Regions from separate parts of the Homo sapiens genome. Here region 1 is linked to region 2. The links are contacts of gene promoters, found by promoter capture Hi-C in blood cells and fetal thymus (Javierre and others, 2016). All regions are on one chromosome and are shown on one strand. Each heading gives the region's core, a stretch centred on a gene start or on the middle of the fragment in contact. The rest is flanking DNA. Distances are from core to core; before and after follow the strand shown.

Region 1 (2,700 bases), core at 43-2,542, 170 kb before region 2:
TGCCTCAGCCTCCTGAGTAGCTGGAACTACAGGCGCCCACCACTGCACCCGGCTAATTTTTTTGTATTTTTAGTAGAGACAGGGTTTCACCATGTTAGCCAGGCTGGCCTCGATTTCCTGACCTCGTGATCCACCTGCCTCAGCCTCCCAAAGTGCTGGGATTACAGGCGTGAGCCACCGGGCCCGGCCAGTAATGCTTGTTAATGTAGAGCTCTCTGATGCCGTCTCCAGACCCATAAGGGTCTACAGTTGTTTTCAATGGTTAACTTTTGTTCTCTCTGGTAGAAAGTGTATGTGTGTGGAGCATGGGGTCATACCTCTTGTCTTTGTCAAGGTATGTTCTGCTTCTATGGAAATATAGGGATGATAGAAAGTTTTCCTGCACCTACTGTTTCTTAATTACCTTTAGCTCAACAATCCTTATGCCAGAGGCATATTTGTGGTGGTGTATTCTGGTCTCCCACACATGTTATTTATGAATAAATGGTTTTATTTATTTTCCCTTTTAATTGATATTTTAACCTAAATTGATTTGTATTTCATATCAAGAGAGTGGACAGTTTTTGATACAAACTCTTTGGAAAGAAATTTGGCAATATAAACAAGAAATCATAAAATTATTATACTCTTTGATTCAGTAAAGTCCCTCCTAGAAGTCTATGAAGGAAAGTGATTCTTTTCTTAAAAAGAAGTGTGATACACCCACTCAGTGAGCTATTTGTAGACATTAAAAATGAGATTATAAAAACATGACTGTTAAGATGCTTACAGATGAGTGTTGTACACCCAACTAAAAGTGGCTTAAAGTTTAAATAATGTCTCCACATAACAAAAAGACCAGAGAAATCTGGGTGGGGTGGCTCACCCCTCTAATCTCAGCACTTTGGGAGGCTGAGGCAGGCAGATCACTTAAGGCCAGGAGTTCGAAACCAGCCTGGGAAACATGGCAAAACCCCGTCTCTACAAAAAAATATAAAAATTAGCTGGGCATGGTGGCACGCATCTACAGTCCCAGCTACTCGGGAGGCTTAGGCATGAGAATCACTTGAGCGGGGAGGTGTAGGTTGCCGTGAGCTGAGATTGCACCACTGCACTCCAGCCTGGACAATAGAGGGAGACTGTCTCAAAAAAGTAAATAAATAAATAAAAATAAAGACCAGCGGTAAGGCAATTCCAAGACTTACTAAATAGTTTGGTTTTGTTTTTTTTAGAAAAACAGGTGATATGTATATATGAAGCAAGAGAATAAGGTCTGGAGACAGGGAACCTTCACTTCAGCCTCTGATTGGTCGCAGGCCAAGTCTTCATTTTCACAGGGCATAACTCCACTTCAGCCTCTGATTGCTTGTGGGCCATGTCTTCATTTACATAGGGTGTAACCAATAGGAAACCTCTAAAGAGTAATGAAACCCCAGAAGATTTTGCAACAGGTGCTCTTGAGCTTCTTGCTTAAGCCACTCCCACTCTGTGGAGTGTACTTTCCTTTCAATACATCTGTGCTTTCATTGCTTCTTTCGTTCATCTGGTTTTTTGTTGCTTTGTTTGTGTGTTTTGTCCAATTCCTTGTTCAAAACACCAAGAACCTAGATGACTCGTCAAGACCCTCCACCAGTAACATATACATTAATATTTAAGAAACACTGAAACTTAAGAAACTTCCTCTTAAGTCACATTGACCTGGGTTGCTATCAGAAATGAATTAGTTGTTCTCAATCCTGGCAGCTCATCCAAATAACCTGGGGAAATCTTTGCCAAATACAAGGGCAAGATTTTTTCTTATGTTTTCTTCTGGATTTTTTATAGTTTTAGCTTTTACATTTAGGCCTATTATTCATTTTGAGTTAGTTTTAGCATATGGTGTGAGGTTGGAGGATTTTTTTTGGCCTATGGCTACCTTAAATATAACTCAAAAGTCACAAACTATAAAAGACAAAAATCAGTAAACTAGACTATCAAAATTAAAATCTGTTTTTCAAGAGAAAAGAAAATGAAAAAGCAAGCCACAGGCTGGGAAAAAATATTGAGAAAGCAATCAAACAAACCAGAATGGGGTTTTTAAGGAGAAGGTAACTTTACAAGACAATTGACCTGGTGTCTTTAAAAAAATTATTAGAAAATAATAATTGTGCATATTCATGGGGTATATAGTGATGTTTTGATAAAAATAATTCATAGCAATCAGATTACGGTAATTAGCATATCCATCATCTCAAATATTTATCCTTTCTTTATGTTGGAAACATTCAATATCCTCCTTCTTGGCCTGGTTTCTTTACAAGTCAATGGCATGAGAGAAAGAAGCGGGGAAGGGAAGACTGTTCTAGAGTACAAGAATTTAAGAGATACAATAATCAAATGGTTTGAGCAAACCAACTAAAAATAACATTATTGGGAATAATTGGGAAAATTTCAGTATGTAGTGGGCATTGGGTCAGTGTTTCTCCACCTGTGGTGAAGGAACAGTTTTTCCCCAATCCATTGCAGAAAGTTACAGTTGTGAAATAAAATAAAAATTAATTAGTAGAAAAATGAAGTAAATAAAAGATGCACAACAAACAAGAGTCATTGTTTTTACTATTGTTGGAGTCAACAGACATAAAATTATCCTGTGAAATTGTTGTACTTACTTCTAAATGGCTATTCTCAGTTTCTTTACACATTTCTTCACAGACAGACAATGGTTTATGACCAGAACCACTG
Region 2 (2,700 bases), core at 165-2,664:
AATAAAATGCAATGGCCACAAGATTGAGTGTTGACTGTCCTCTAAGTATTTGCAATTGAGAAGGGTTTTTTCCTGGCCAAGCACGGTGGCTCACGCCTGTAATCCCAGCACTTTGGGAGGCCAAGGTGGGCAGATCATGAGGTCAAGAGTTCAAGACCAGAATGGCCAACATGGTGAAAACCCATCTCTACTAGGACTACAAAAATTAGCTGGGTGTGGTGGCACGTGCCTGTAATCCCAGCTACTTGGGAGGCTGAGACAAGAGAATCACTTAAACCTGGGAGGCAGAGGTTGCAGTGAGCCGAGATCACACCACTGCACTTTAGCCTGGGCGGCAGAACAAGACTCTGTCTTGGAAAAAAAAAAAGAAGGGTTTTTTTCCCTTAAAAACCTAAACCATCAGTGATCTCCATTGCTGAAATTAGTGGGTGCCAGTTGCATGAAATTCCAGGATGTTTATCTAACCTAGGGTCCTCCCTCCTCTGAGGGGAAGAAGTAGATGCCAGGAGAGGTTTAAACCATGAAGTGGCTCGCACACTGGGTGTAGCTGGAATGTACCTCAAGCAGGCACGTCAGTCCACTTCTTTGGCTGCATTTTTGAAAGGTGTGTCAAAGTTTAGCATTATTCCTGGGGATGGTCTACTCCTGAAGAGCAGGCCAGGAAAATTCCCAGTAAGTGACTAAATGAATAAATGGAAAAATGTCGCAGTTCCCTCTCCTCAGAGCCTCGCACAAAAGGTAGCCATTACATAGGCCACTGTCAAACAGTCCTCTGAGAGATTCCCACACTCTTCCTCTTCCCTCTAGACTACCCATCTGCCCCAATCCCCCCCTTGAGCAGCCTATTCTGTTTTTTCTCCCACTACAGCAGCCAGCCCCACCGCCTGGTGTAGAGCTTGAAGATGGAAAGGGAAGATAGGATGGGCAGAAACTGCCCTGCAATAGCTACATCATCCCCGAAACGCATACCTAAGAAAACCACTAAGGTCACCACACCCTGGAGGTGACATTCGCATGATTTATGCCTCTCTTGGGCTTTAGATTTTATTCCTTTACTTTTCTATAACTCTGTCATGACCAGTTTAAAGGCCCCAATGTCATGTCCTCGCATTAACAACCAAGGCTACAATGCAAGCCCTGCCATGTGCGCTTCTTTACAAAAGGTCAAAGTAAAAAGGAAATCTATACCAAAGAGCCTCTAGATACTATTTCCAGCTTCGGGGAAGTCCATAGTAGGTACTTCCACGGGTAGAGAACATTATCTTAGACTGGGATAAGGGTTGGTATTCGCAGTCCCCTTCCTACGTTCTGCCCATTGTAAAGACCAGGGTCAGCGTTGAGCCTCGCCCTTCTTGCTAGAACTACAACTCCCAGGATGCCCCGCGGCACGGGAGTGCGCACGCGCGTCGGAGGCGAAGGAGGAACCCACCGCACCTACAGGGCGGTCGAGTGAGGGAGCTGCTGGCGGGTGGGTCTGGCAACTCTTTGGGAGGCCGACGCGGGCGGACCGGCGGGTGCTGGGAACCGAGCCTCGGCTTGCGGCCGGCAGTTTCCGTGGGTCTGTGAAGAGGTCGGCGGCCCCTGCGGGCGCCAGTCAGGTAAGCCCAGCCCGGTGCTTTCCAGGAAGTCCGTCTGCGGGCGCGGGTAGGGAGTCGCACCGGCCATGGTGGCTGAGGAGGGAGAGGTTGCTGCCCGCCGGCCGCCCGACTCCAGGCTCCTTCCCGACGGGTCCGTCTCGGGGAGCAGGGGTGCGCGGGGGCTGCTTCTGCGCGAACGGCCCGGGCGGGGGACGTGGGGCGCGCTGGGCGTCGCCCGCCGGTCTAGGCGCGCGAACCTGGCGTTCCCAGTGAATCACCCGCGGCCCGGGCGCCCGGGTTCGGGACCGGCCCCCTCCCCTCCCGCTGAGCCGCGGCCGAGCTGGCTCCCTGCACCCTACCCAGCGTCGCCGGGACGCGATCACACCGAGATGGCACCGAGCCTCCTTCAAAGGCTTCGGCTTGTTGAAAGTGGGGCGGCGGAGTGGGGGAGCCAAAACTTAGGGCACACCCTTTTTGTGATTGAAATGTGGCTGCCCTTGCATTCACCGGTTTGATCTGTCTGCTCTTAGAATTAAGTTCCTAGCTCCCAGGCAGCACAGCTGGATCCGGCTGGGAAGTTTGTGTGTTAGTTTGTTTTGAGGACGTGACTGTGTCGTTATATTTTTGCTTGCGGGGGATGGTGTGTTTCCTCCGCAAGCCTGCATTCTGATTACAAACAGAAATGGGAAACAGCCACAGTTTCTTTTTTTCTTTTTAATGTTTAGTTAAGAATCGCATTTCCAACTTGCCCTTGGCCTCTGTTAAAACCAAAAGTCATCTGGCAATGAACACTGCAGTAAAACTTACCCCAGGAGGCCATACTTCAACAGGAAATAAGCCTGTGGAGATTTAAGTTAGTTATGTGCAGCCTCCCTTGGTTTGTAACATTTTCATGCAGCTCATGTCTCCTCTCCTTTTCTGAGAAACCTTCAGATTAATTTTTTTGGCAGATTAAATTGATTAATTGGCCCGTCAAAAATATATTAGGCTTGGAAAAATAGCTTTGCCAAGTCTCATTTACTCTTGCTAGTTTCTTCTTCCTAGGCACCTTTTCACCTTTAAGAGTCAGCAATCATAATAGTTACAGTCCCCTTTCTTACACATTCCTACGAAAGGAACAAAA

The links. Contacts are between HindIII fragments. The CHiCAGO score rates a contact against its expected background, and 5 or more counts as called.
Region 1: a contact is called between a fragment that was not itself captured here and the fragment with the promoter of TMOD3 in region 2, in 2 of 17 cell types (neutrophils and M1 macrophages). The highest score is 5.7, in neutrophils.

The regions. Positions count from the first base shown.
Region 1 is chr15:51,657,465-51,660,164 of GRCh38, forward strand. No RefSeq gene overlaps it. Among named protein-coding and RNA genes, the nearest start is that of SCG3, 23 kb to the right of the region's middle. The HindIII fragment of the contact is 9,807 bases long and covers 1-2,700 here.
Region 2 is chr15:51,828,239-51,830,938 of GRCh38, forward strand. TMOD3 (tropomodulin 3) reads left to right here and starts at 1,415. Exons shown (of 10, transcript NM_014547.5): 1 at 1,415-1,598. RefSeq lists silencers at 1,320-1,474, 1,695-1,974. The HindIII fragment of the contact is 7,100 bases long and covers 1-2,700 here.